Linked DNA regions of Homo sapiens: all the other regions are linked to region 2. The links are contacts of gene promoters, found by promoter capture Hi-C in human tissues and cell types (Jung and others, 2019). All regions are on one chromosome and are shown on one strand. The core of a region is centred on a gene start or on the middle of the fragment in contact, and the rest is flanking DNA. Distances in the headings are between cores, read along the strand shown.

What was found. The method cuts DNA at HindIII sites, captures the fragments that hold promoters and counts their contacts. A contact is called where the count stands out against the background at its distance.
Region 1: a contact is called between a fragment that was not itself captured here and the fragment with the promoter of IRF5 in region 2, in 1 of the 25 tissues and cell types used here (mesenchymal stem cells).
Region 3: a fragment that was not itself captured here is called in contact with the fragment with the promoter of IRF5 in region 2 in 1 of the 25 tissues and cell types used here (lymphoblastoid cells).

Annotation. Positions count from the first base shown.
Region 1 is chr7:129,348,842-129,352,960 of GRCh38, reverse strand. All of the region lies in intron 1 of AHCYL2 (adenosylhomocysteinase like 2), which reads right to left. LOC105375500 (a long non-coding RNA gene) reads right to left here. Exons shown (of 2, transcript XR_927962.3): 1 at 1,300-4,119; 2 at 484-765. Among named protein-coding and RNA genes, the nearest start is that of STRIP2, 84 kb to the left of the region's middle. The HindIII fragment of the contact is 3,062 bases long and covers 106-3,167 here.
Region 2 is chr7:128,936,287-128,940,413 of GRCh38, reverse strand. IRF5 (interferon regulatory factor 5) reads right to left here and starts at 2,487. Exons shown (of 9, transcript NM_001098629.3): 1 at 2,365-2,487. RefSeq lists enhancers at 1-20, 1,511-1,580, 1,614-2,197, 3,865-4,127 and a silencer at 1,861-2,620. The HindIII fragment of the contact is 4,364 bases long and covers 2,309-4,127 here.
Region 3 is chr7:129,206,621-129,210,876 of GRCh38, reverse strand. SMO (smoothened, frizzled class receptor) reads right to left here. Exons shown (of 12, transcript NM_005631.5): 7 at 2,026-2,118; 8 at 1,480-1,588; 9 at 329-514. Among named protein-coding and RNA genes, the nearest start is that of AHCYL2, 16 kb to the left of the region's middle. The HindIII fragment of the contact is 7,558 bases long and covers 1-4,256 here.

The DNA of each region.
Region 1 (4,119 bases), core at 387-2,886, 410 kb before region 2:
AAAAAAAAAAAAAAAAAAAAAAAGAATGAGGAGGTAAAGGCCTAAACATGAAAGGCCTTATAAGCTAAGGAATTTGAATTTTATTCTATGTATAATGGGCATTATTAAAGGATTTTAAGCAATGGAGTGACATGAAATAATTTCTATTTACATCTGCTGCTGTGTGGAAAATGGATTAGAGACAGGCAAGAAGGGAAGACCAATGAGATACCTGATGCAGGAGATCAAGTGCAAGATGATGGTAACCTGGAATAGGCTAATGGCAAAGGTGGAGAAAAGCAAGCAGATCTGAGGTTATCTTAACAGCAGAACTCAAAAGACTTGCTAACGGATTGGACGTAGGAGGTGAGGAAAAAGAAATAATGACTTCAATTCTAGTTTGAACAACTGGGTTGGAGGTGATTTACTAAGATGAGAAAAATTGGGGCAGGGTGAAAGAGAGAAAGTTTTGTGGGAGAAATAAAAAATTCCATTGTGGACATGTTAAATTTAGAATATGAAACATTTATGTGGACACAGTATATATATAGATAGGTAGAGTGAGAGTCTGGAGCTCAAATACGAGGTCTACACCGGGGACAGCTTGACTGGAAGCTGTCAAGCTCATGGTGGCGGGTTTGGGTTTTCCAAAATTCTAATTTCCATTTGAAAGCTTGAATTTTATCATTGACAACAAATACTGTCAGTTTCCTTGAGACAGGCTCACTTCGTTCATTTTCAAGAAAATATCTGCCAGATGCCCAAACCTGAATAACCATGGTCTCTCTGTAAAGTAAAAGAGATACATGATTAAAAAAAGGAGCCTAGTGCAGTTTGCAACTCAAACAATCAGGAATGCTTTCCCTCAAGACAACCATTATATTTCAGCATGCAGCCGAAGTACTTTATGTGTACTTCCCAGTTCATTAAAAAAAAAATTATACTCCAGGATTGATATTTAATAAAACTAATCATTTTAATGGCTTCATCAAAAACATTCTAAGTGAAACTGGAAGAAAGATGTTATCTGCAAGTACACACCAATGACAAATACAATAACTAATGGTTATTAATTACTTACCTATCATTGCTTATATACCATTAGTGCAAAATGTCAACACCATAGAAAAGGCAAACACCTTAGTATTATTATGAAAACAGCTCTGACCTCACAGACCTTGAAAAACAGTATCAGGGACTCCTGGGAGTCCATGGACCACATTTTGAGAACCACTGCTTTAAGAGGTGCTGCGAGACCACTGTGAGGTCTGGTGATTAACAAAAGCTTTGTGGAGAAAGAGGACATGAATGTTTTTTTACCTGCAAAGGGGTGCCTCAGAAGGTCTTCTCTTCAGAAACGTCTTCTAATAAATTTTGCAAGACCCAATCTTCCATAGCCTCTACCATTGCCAATGGCGATTTCCTTTTCACCTTTCCCTTTGATTCAGGGGCTTTTGAGGTCAAAAGCATTTTCATAATACTAAAATGTCCTTTGTCTTTTTCACTTTTCATTCTCTCTTGAGTGTAGAGTGGGGTTTTCCAGAGGCTGTATGTGTGATGACGTCATCAGGCTGAATAAATGGAATGTATGCTTGTATATTTTTGTGTTTTCTAAAGTTTTCCAAGGAGATTGGTTACAGTATAAATAAAAGTGTTTTTGGCTTATTATTTCTACTATGTTCCTGCTGGTATCTCCAGGTATACCTACTATAATCTCTGTAACTTCACTATCATCCAATAAGTTGTTATTTTTAAAATCCAAAAGTGTTCCTTATGCCTATGCGGAAACACCAAAAATAAGTATATATCTTTGACTTGTTTTAAAATAAAATTCAAAACTTTTTTCAACTTTCATAAATTTAAAATTATTTAAAACTGCTATTTTAGAATTTAATAATATTCTAGAATAAAATAAAATTTATGCTATTTCTAATACTTAAGGATGAATTGTTTGCTTTTAAAAAAGAAATTAGGCCGGGGCCGGGCGCGGTGGCTCACGCCTGTAATCCCAGCACTTTGGGAGGCCGAGGAGGGTGGATCACCTGAGGTCAGAAGTTCAAGACCAGCCTGGTCAACATGGTGAAACCCTGTCTCTACTAAATATACAAAAATTAGCGGGGCATCATGGCGGGAGCCTCTAATCCCAGCTACTCAGGAAGCTGAGGCAGGAGAAGCACTTGAACCTGGGATACAGAGATTGCAGTGAGCTGAGAGCCTGAGTAACAGAGCAAAACTCCATCCCTAAAAGATAAAAAAAAAAAAAAAAAGAAAGAAAGAAAGAAAAAGAAAATGAAGGAGGCTGGGTGCAATGGCTCACACCTGTAATCCCAGCACTTTGGAAGGCCGAGGCAGGAGGATCACAAGGTCAGGAGTTCGAGACCAGCCTGGCCAACATAGTGAAACCCTGTCTCTACTAAAAATACAAAAATTAGTCAGGTATGGTGGCACAATGCACCTGTAGTCCCAGCCACTTGAGAGGCTGAGGTGAAAGAATCCCTTGAACCCGGGAGGCAGAGGTTGCAGTAAGCTGAGACCACGCCATTGCACTCCAGCCCATGTGACAAAAGTGAGACTCCATCTCCAAAAAAAAAAAAAAAGACTACATTTATTGAATGCTTTCTACATTCCAAATACTATGTTGCTTTGGCATGTATTATCTCATTTAATCCTTATAATGCTATACAGTAGGTGCTTTTATTATCACCATTTCACAACTGAGGAAACAAGTATGGACAGGATAAGTGACTGACCCAAGATCAGAGCTCATAAGACACAGAGCTAAAACCTGAATCCAGGTACCTCTGCATGCTTTATCTGAAATGCCCTTATCTTCACATGCTTGTTGAATGGATTAACCCTGAACTGCCTTGTAAGTCAAGAATCCCATCTTCTATAAAGCCTTTTGAAGCAATAGGCAAAAATGACCACAGTATAAATTTGGGACAAATGTTTCTGAGTAATTGAGTTGTACAATAATATGAATAACTAAATGTACATCTGAGTTAAAGTATGCAGATTGGTTTTTCATAAATAAGAACTATGATCTGGACTTCAATCAAGTAACAGATAATGATCAATATTGATAGAGGCATTTTTTATTAGTGTAGAACTACAACTCACTGGTTCTACTATTCTCCCCTTTTCCCAAAACAAAGCAGAGAAAAGACCTTGAGATGGGAGAGGTTTTACAGAGATGTCAACAGGACTACCAGGGCATCTTACATAGCCCTATCTCTTTAGTAAGGTAGCTTTATTGCTAATGTGAAAATAAACCATGGCTGTTCTATATGGAATCAGGTTGGCATACGCTTTTTTTTTTTTTTTTTTTTTGAAACAGAGTCTTGCATTGTTGCCCAGGCTGGAATGCAATGATGCCATCTCAGCTCACTACAACCTCCGCTTCCCGGGTTCAAGCAATTCTCCTGCCTCACTCAGCCTCCTGAGTAGCTGGGATTACAGGCATGTGCCACCACGCCTGGCTAATTTTTGTGGGTTTTTTTTTTTTTTTTTTTTGGTAGAGATGGGGTTTCACCATGTTGGCCAGGCTAGTCTCGAACTGACCTCAGGTGATTCTCTCGCCTCAGCCTTCCCAAGTGCTGGGATTACAGACATAAGCCACCATGCCCGGCCTGACATAAGTTCTTATATTTGTATATACAAACCTCCAATTTTATCCCTCAGTCAAGATTTAGGTCTCTACCTAAAGATTATTCTTAGCATAAGGGTTTTTCTTGGTTTATGACAATATTTCTAATTTTTAAAGCCCATACAGAGTAAACCTAGATAGAATCAAAACATTTTCAAGATGAAGGGAACCTTTGAATTTGTCCAGATCAATCACTTCTTTTTACAGTTAAGAAGTTGAGACCTAGAAAGTTTAAATTACTTGCCTAGACATGATATATTTAGAAAAGATAAAAGTTGTGAGGAATAAAAGTCAGCCAGAGTCTCTTCCTAGCTGTAAAGAGAAAACGATCTGACAGCAGAGTATTTTCTGGTGGAAAGAAACATAAAATAGCAAAACAGCTTAGGTTAGTGTGTTTTAACTTTTTAGGGCCATGGGACCTTCCCTTCCTTAGCAAATCTGATTAAAGTCACAGACCCTCTTCTCTCTAGAATCTGGAAAGTCTGGAATAAGCA
Region 2 (4,127 bases), core at 1,238-3,737:
GGTGCCAGTCACCAGCGGCACACAATTCTGGCCGAGCAAGGGTGGACAGAGGAAGCTCTGTCTGCACAGAATCGGGGAGAGCTTCCCTAATGACCCCCTGGGCTGAGGCCGTGCAGGCGCTGGTGCCGTTGGGGAGCTCAGAGGGTCCGGCTGCCTGCCCCCTACTGTCAGTCCAGCAGTCTGGCCCTGCCCAACACGGCTGTTTAATACAGAGCAAGGTTTTGAAATGATAACTCCGACCTCAGTGTCAGAGGGCCGCGTCCATACAGGCAGCTTAGGGAGGGGTGTGGAGGAGGAGCTCCCGTGACAAGCCCGGCTGTGATGAGCGAGAGTCTGTCCACCATGCCACAGAAGGGACTCAGCCTCAAGGCTTTTGCCTGCAGCTAGGTCCACACGAGCTCTAACCCGAACAGCATCCATCCTCCTAGAAGCTCCCTTCTGCCCAGAAAAGGGCTAGGTCTAATTCAGACCACCCCAATCAAGGCCCATGACTTTGGAAGTTCGGTGTCAGAACAGGTCTGCCTGCCAGGCTCCGGAGTCTCTGGGTGAAATGTATGGAGCCCTAGACCTAAGTCAATGGACCTGAGCCCCGGAAGGTGGGGAAATCCAACAGCCTGAGGAAGTCCCTACAATTGTGTGAGGCAGCGAAGCATCCAGTGGGCAGCCCTAGAGGACCTGCTGAGGTGGGGTAAGCCCACAGCTCACCCCAGGGCCATGCTGGAGTCCCAGGAGACAGTGCCCCCACCACCACCCAGGAGCTGCAATTCATGGGCACCAGGGACCCACTAGGGGAGGAAGTGCCACAGCAGTCCTAGTAAGAGTGGCCAGACAGCAGGCGCCCTGCTGCTCCCAGGGTTGGTCTGGGTCACATGTCTCCTTGCAAACCCACACCCAGCTCAGGGAGAGGACAAGGGGTTCCCTGTACAGGCCCTGACCCCCAAATCCCACCCCTCCGGGTCAGCTGCCCACACCCTGGGCCCTGCTGCCCACCTGGTCCAGACAGGCTGAGGCTCTGGGGCAAAAGGTGCCCAGAAAGAAGCTTCTTTCAGCTTCCTCCCAGGGTCAGGGTAGGGGAAGACCAGGGTACAGGGGAAAAACCCCAAAGTAGGGCCTTTAGATAAAAAGGGGTGATTTCCCAGTGCTTCCCTTGACTCTTGGAACCCCTCAGCCCCAGCACCCCAGGCCCCATAACTACTGGGGGTGGGGGCAGGAAGGGGAGGTCTTGCCAGAGGGCCTCCTGAGGGGCTACAGTTTCCTACATCGATACAGCCGAGCCCTCTCTGGTTCTGGTCACTTATCCCCATTCTGGGCCCTCGAGGAGCCCAGGCCCAGCCCAGTCCTCCGCCCCTGCTCCCCCCTCCCCTCCGCCCCCACCCCTCCCGCGTGCTCCGCTGGGGCACACCCCCTGGGCCAGCCCGCGGAGCCACCCCCACCTCCAGAGTCGGCCTCTGGACCTCTCCTCCTGCTGCTGGAGGAGCAGCACCCCGGTCCTCGCCCTGCTGTGTTCAGCGTGGCCGCGAGGCTGGGAAAGTCCCCCACTCCAGCCTCTGCTCCCAGGTACCCGCTCCCGCCCCTCCCGGGGTCCGGAGACAACCATCTCCCCACGCATCCCGGCCATGCTAGCCTCACTTTTCCTCCACGTTTAGCCTCTTCATTGTTGCCTTCTTAAGTTCTGGGACAGGACCTGAGGAAACCAGCCCAGGAACTATTGCGCCCCATCCTTTTCCGCTGCTCGGGGGACGAGAGTCTGCCATTCCCGGCCGCGAGCCCAGGGACGCAGCCTCTACCTGACACCATCTTCCCCCAAACTCTTGCACAGTTCCTGCCATTGGCCTGAAGATCCCGGGGGATGAACGCTTTAACCTCAACCTCTTTTCCGAAAGGGTGAGGGTGGCCCGGTAAGAGCAAGGGCGAGTGCATCGAAAGTAAGGATCGGGCCTCGCTCCTCTGTGGTCCAAGCCAGCCTCCAGCGGGGCTCCCGGGAACCCCCATTCTGGGCGATGGCGAGGGGGAGGGAGAGCAGCAGAGCCGGCGCCCCCCGCAGCGCTGCCCACTCCGCCGCCTGGGTCACTGGGCTCCCCGGGCGCCAGCACCCCAAACCGATCGGGGCGTGGGAGGCGCTTTGGAAGTCCCAGGCCGGCCGGGCGCACCCTGCTGTAGGCACCCACCCGAGCTCGCTTTCCAGGCGCAGCTGGACGCGGACCCCGCCCTACTCCAGTCTTCATCCCGCCGCCCGCAGGTGCCTGGGGGGCGCGGGGCCCAGTCTAGGCCTAGACTTGGGGGCAGTAGCCGGCACCGCTCCCGCCACCCTCGGGGCGCGCCGGGCGCGGACGCAGAGAGGAGAGCGCGGCGGCCGGGACCCACCTGTCTGCGGTGCGCCTGCGTGGCTGCGCCAGGGAGCACCGGCCGGGCGGCGGGACCAAGCTGAGCTCTGCCCAGGCTGCGCCTCCCGCCGGTCCGCCAACCTGCCGGGCACTTCCGCGTCTTGCCGCCCCCGCCCCTGGGCAGCTGCTGCTGAGCTCCGGGCGCGGGCAGTGCCCCGCCCCGCCCCGCGAATCCACTCCGGGCCCCGCACTGACCTGGCAACTGCAGATCCGGGCTGAGCCTCGGGCCAGGCCCAGGGCCTCCAGGGAGATGCCAGACGGCGCGGTGCCCTAGACTGGCCACTGGCTCTTTTGGCAATCTGGAATGGCAAAACTGTCATTTGACAACCCCGTACCTCCCGCTGCAGTGCTCAGTTGGGCCCTGGGAGAGGGTGGGGTGCTTCCCCACTCTGGTCCTCCGGGGCTGCACACAAATGAGGGCGCAGTGTGGCCGACCCACAGCTCCAGGCCCTCCTCTCGCCTGCCTACACCCCTGGCGAGGGTGGCTCTCGCCCTAGAACACAGTCGCTGCCCCCAGGATCCAGACACCCCTTCCAGATGTGCTTGCAGGCGGGAATCCTCTAGTCACTCTGTGCCTTTCTCATCCTCAAACCCTGCACCTGTCTCGCCCCAGCTCCCCTAAGTCGCCTTCCAGTCATCCCAGGGGCAGCGGCGTGGTCGCCTGTCCCACCTCCTCTCACTACTACCTTGACCGTCGACCTGTGGTTCTGAACCGTTTTCGATTCCATAAAGAACCTCACCCCAGAACCTCCACCTTCACACACCTCCTGTTCCTTCTCATGGAATGTTCTTCGCTTGGTAACTCTTGCTCTTCAAAATTTCTGTTTCTGAAATTTTCAGCATCGCCTTCTCTGGAAAGTCTGCCTTGACTTCCCCTCCCAGGTGGGGTTCCAGGGTGCAAATAGCTTCCTGGTTGATTTTGCTTATGATTTTGTTATGGATTGCCAGGGGTTTGGTCCAGGTCTGGCTGCTCACCGCACAGAAAGCCTATCACTGAGACAGCGAGTATTGCCAGGGAAGACTTTATTCCGGTGACATCAGCCAGTGAGCTGTTGAGAGGGGAGACAAACCTCCAATCCATCCCTCCCCTTGACTAAAGTTAGGGGCTTATATAGCAGGGAAGGAAAACAGGAGGGACAAGGAAGAGGAATTGGTCAACAGGCAGCAGGTGTACTGATGTAAGTGTCTCAAGCTTCAGTTCTATGAGCATCTGGCTTTTTGGAAAATTCAGCGGGTTTCAATTTTGATGTCTGATTTCCACTCGAATCAGCTTACTCAGGAACCTCCCTCCTGTCTTTTCATTGTTCATTTTATTTTATTTTATTTTTTGATATGGAGTCTTGCTCTGTCACCCGGGCTGGAGTGCAGCAGTGCGATCTCAGCTCACTGCAACCTCTGCCTCCCCAGTTCAAGCGATTCTCCTGCCTCAGCCTCCCAAGTAGAGACGGGGTTTCACCATGTTGGCCAGGCTGGTCTCGAGCTCCTGACCTCAGGCGATCCACCCGCCTTGGCCTCCCAAAGTGCTGGGATTACAGGCGGGAGCCACTGCGCCAAGCAGAGCCTTGTATTTTTAACAAATAAAGTAGTATTTGTTGATGAATCAGAACTTTGACCTTCCCTCCCCTCCCTTCTCCTGGGTTGAACTTTACCTTTAACAAGTTAAAAAAAGACACTCATGTGTTAACGTTTTTTTTTTTTCTCTTCTGTATCTCTCCCTCTTTCCTGACCTTTGAAGCCCTAATA
Region 3 (4,256 bases), core at 827-3,326, 270 kb before region 2:
GAGAAGGAGGCTCCCAAGGGCCTCAAGTCCTTCAAGGACTCAGGAGTAGAGGCCTTCTCTGCAAAGAAGTGGGGCCAGAATGCAGAGCTCCTGTGTGCCCAGCCCTCCAATCACTCCGCTCTTAAAAGGTGATGGCAGCTGGCTCTGCCCTTGGCCCAGGCCCAGGCCCAGGCATCAGGCCACCCAAGGACAGAAGGTGCCACCAGGGGGCAGCGGTGAACCACTGACCAAGGCTGTGCTAGAGGCAGGACCCGACAAAACCTAAAGATGGGGTCCCAAGGCTGAGGGTGAGGCGGGCAGGGCAGGAGGGGCTGGCTGCCATGCCCACCTGCACCAGGTACGCCTCCAGATGAGCAGCGTGGCCTTGGTCCAGACCCAGGTGCTCATGGCGATGCCAGTTCCAAACATGGCAAACAGGTTGATCTTCTCCACCAGAAGGCTCGGGCGATTCTTGATCTCACAGTCAGGGATGGGCTGCTTGGTGGGCAGCCCGATGGTCACATTGGCCTGACATCTACAGTGAGGGAACGTAGACAGGTGAGGCTTTCCTTTCTTTTCCTCTCTCTTTTTTTGAGATAGGATCTTGCTCTGTCACCCAGGCTAGAGTGCGGTGGCGTGATCACAACCCACTGCAGCTTCCAACTCCTGGGCTCAGGCAATCTCCTGCTTCAGCCTCCCAAGTAGCTGGGACTACAGGTGGGGTTTTCTGAGTCTACTGGGTAGACTCAGACAATCAATCCAAAAACTTTAGAAAGGGCTAAGCTCCACAGCACTGATCTCAACCCTGGGTGCTCATTAGAATCAACTGGGGAGCTTTTAATAGCTACTGATGCCTGGGACCCACCCTAGACAATTAAATTGAATCTCTGGGGCAGAGACTCAGGCATCACTGTGGTTTAAAGCATCCCAGACTGGAAGCCGGAACCTTTACGGAAGAGCCTGAAGCAGTCAGGGCTTGGACTAGCATCCATTTTAGCGACTGTCCTTGTAACAGTGGGTACTGCGCTTCTCTCAGCAGTAGCAATGTCTTACTCTCTCCAATCCATCCTCATTATGACACAAAAAAGCACAGGCAAAAACTAGCCAACATTAGCAGGTCATTAACCTATCACAGAGAGGTAACTAGTCCTGTGCCAGGATCTAAAGCAGGCTCTGCAGGAGAGCACACAGAATTAGAGGGCAACTTAGTGTCAGTCAGAGAAGACGAAGCTGAACTGGCTGCTTAACAGTCACACATGCACCAGCTGGGCAACCAAGGGGGTGGAGAGGGAAGGGCAGAGGTGAGAAGGGATGCGAAGGTTGTTTGCCACGTTTGAGAAACTACGGAGACTGATGCCTTATGCACCCAGACACCATCCATTGAATCTGCTGTCTGCAGCAGGGACCTGGCAAATCCCTGCTGCCCGGTGGGTGGAGGTGGGTGTCTTTATGGCCTTGGCTCCAGCTCCCAGCACTGCCGCCTCCATGCCCCTCACTCACAGCACATAGTCCCGGAAGCTGCGCTCCCACTCAGCCTGGTTGAAGAAGTCGTAGAAGTGGCAGCTGAAGGTAATGAGCACAAAGCCAAAGGCCAGGAAGCCAAAAATGCCTGTGGAGGACAGGGGCAGGACAGGACGTTACCAAGCCCAGTCCCGCAGCAGCAGTGGGGAGGAGAGAGTCTGCCCCACTGGGCCTCAAAGTTCACCCAGCTGGGGCTGGGGTGAACTCATGCTGGGCTCAGTCCAAGAACTGCTTTCTCTAAAATAAAATAAGAAGGGCACTTGAAGCAACTGTGGGAGGGACCACGTGGGACGTAGTGGGCAGGAGGAACCAGTCCCGGCATGAACTTGACTGAATTCTTCCCCCCGAGTAGACCCCCTTCTTTTGAGCTGCCACTACCACTACCACCTACACACACCCCTTGTCCTTGTCCCTATGGCTAACTTGTCCCACTGACTTACTGCATCCTGCCGGTCGCATAGCCCCAGGAGGGTGCAGTGTTGGGCTGGCCAGGACCTCAGACCGAAGTCCCCCGGGGCCACTCACCCAGGCGCAGCATGGTCTCGTTGATCTTGCTGGCAGCCTTCTCACTCAGCAGCCCGGGGTGGTTGCTCTTGATGGAGAACAGAGTCATGACTCCTGAACAGAAGGGGGACCTCAGACATTAGCAGGGGTGAGGCTGCCCTGCTGGGAAGGATGGGTGAGTGGGAGGAGGGTCCTAAGGCTCTGGAGTCCCAAGTCTGATTACCCCTGTGCTAAATGAAAACCTGGGGAGCTAGAGACACTGGAGAAATGGTGAGAAGACCAGGGCAGAGCCTAGACAGACACTTGAGAAGAGGGAGCCTCGGTCGTGGCCCAGCTGCCCCTGAAGAAGGGGGCAGATCAAAGCTGTTCTGATGGGAAAGACATAAAACAGACTCAAGAACAGCGCTATCCATATAATTTTTTTTTTGAGATGGAACCCTGTCGCCCAGGCTGGAGTGCAATGGCGTGATCTCGGCTCATTGTAAACTCCGCCTCCCAGGTTCAAGCAATTCTCCTGCCTCAGCCTCCCAAGCAGCTGGGATCACAGGCACCTACCATCACGCCGGCTAATTTTTGTATTTTTGTAAAGATGGGGTTTCACCATGTTGGCCAGGATGGTCTTGAACTCCTGAACTCAGGTGATCTGCCCACCTCGGCCTCCCAAAGTGCTGGGATTACAGGTGTGAGCCACCATGCCGGCCTTCCCATAGAAATATGTGAGCCACATACATATGGCAAATTTCTAGTGGCCACTTAAAAAAAGTTAAAAGAAACAAGCAAAACTAATATCAATATATTTTACAAACCTAATATATTCAAAATAAAATCATTTCAACATGTAATCCATGTAACAAATTATTAATGAGATATTTTACATTTTTTTCCCACTAAGTTTTTTTTTTAATACAGTGTGTATTTCACATTTTACAACACATCTCAATTTGGACTTGTTTCTTTTTGTTGTTGTCTTGTTTTCTTTGGAGACAGGGTCTCACTCTGTCACTCAGGCTGGAGTGCAGTGGCAAGATCATGGCTCACTGCAGCCTCAACCTCCTGGGCTCAAGCAAGCCTCCCACCTCAGCCTCTCACATAGCTAGGACCACAGGCATGTGCCACCCTGCCCAGGCAACTTTTGTATTTTTTGTAGAGATGGGGTTTCACTATGTTGTTCAGGCTGGTCTCGAACTCTGAGCTCAAGTGATCCGTCCGTCTCAGCCTCCCAAAGTACTGGGATTACAGGAGTGAGCCGCCGCACCCAGGCTGGACTAGTTCAACACATGTGGCTAGTGATTACCATACTAGGACAGCATGATAACGAAGCACAAATCAGAGGGCCAGACACTATGCCAAAAAGAGGGGAAAGAGGTGACTGAACAGAAGGCTGGCAGTTCAGGGTGAGGAAACTGAGGTTTACAAAGAAAACCCAACAACAATGAGCTAAATAGATGCTGAGGCTTACTATGGGATGGCAGCATGAGACAGGAAAGTTAGGGACCACTAATTCCACGCATGCTGTGAGAGCTGTGTGTGCCGGGGACAGAAAGAAGATGAAAACCAAGCTCCAGAAGATTGACAGTACATATCGAATTAATGTGCACACAGATAACCAAACGACCTAGGTTGGTCCAAGTGGGCAGAGTAGGTTACTCAGGGTGTTCATCACACAAGTGCACCGGCCAGGAGCTGACTGGGGCTGGATCCTGACCCAACTCCACCTAACAAGCTGTGAGGCTGGGCACTGTGGCTCATGCCTGTAATCTCCGCACTTTGGGAGGCTGAGGTGGTGGATCACTTTAGGTCAGGAGTTCAAGACCAGCCTGGCTAACATGGTGAAACCCCGTCTCTACTAAAAATACAAAAATTAGCCAGACGTGGTGGTGCATGCCTGTAATTTTAGCTATGGGGGAGGGTGAGGCAGGAGAATCACTTGAACCCAGGAGGCGAAGGTTGCAGTGAGCCAAGATTGTGCCACTGCACTCCAGCCTGGGCAACAGAGCTAGACTCTGTCTCAAAAACAAAAACAAACAAAAAAAACAAGCTGTGAGCCCTGGGCCAAGGCCCTGGAGAGAGGGATGGATTTTTCTGGCCAGTACAAAGGTGCTGTCCCGCAGCAAGTGCTCACGGTGTTTCGTCTGCCTAGAGGGTCACCTTCTACTGTGTGAAGGCCCTATAGGAGCTAGCTGGGGTTTCAGCATGGGGGCAGCCGTGCTGGCAGCTCCCAGTACTGGCAGCAAGTGCCCAGTATATTTTGT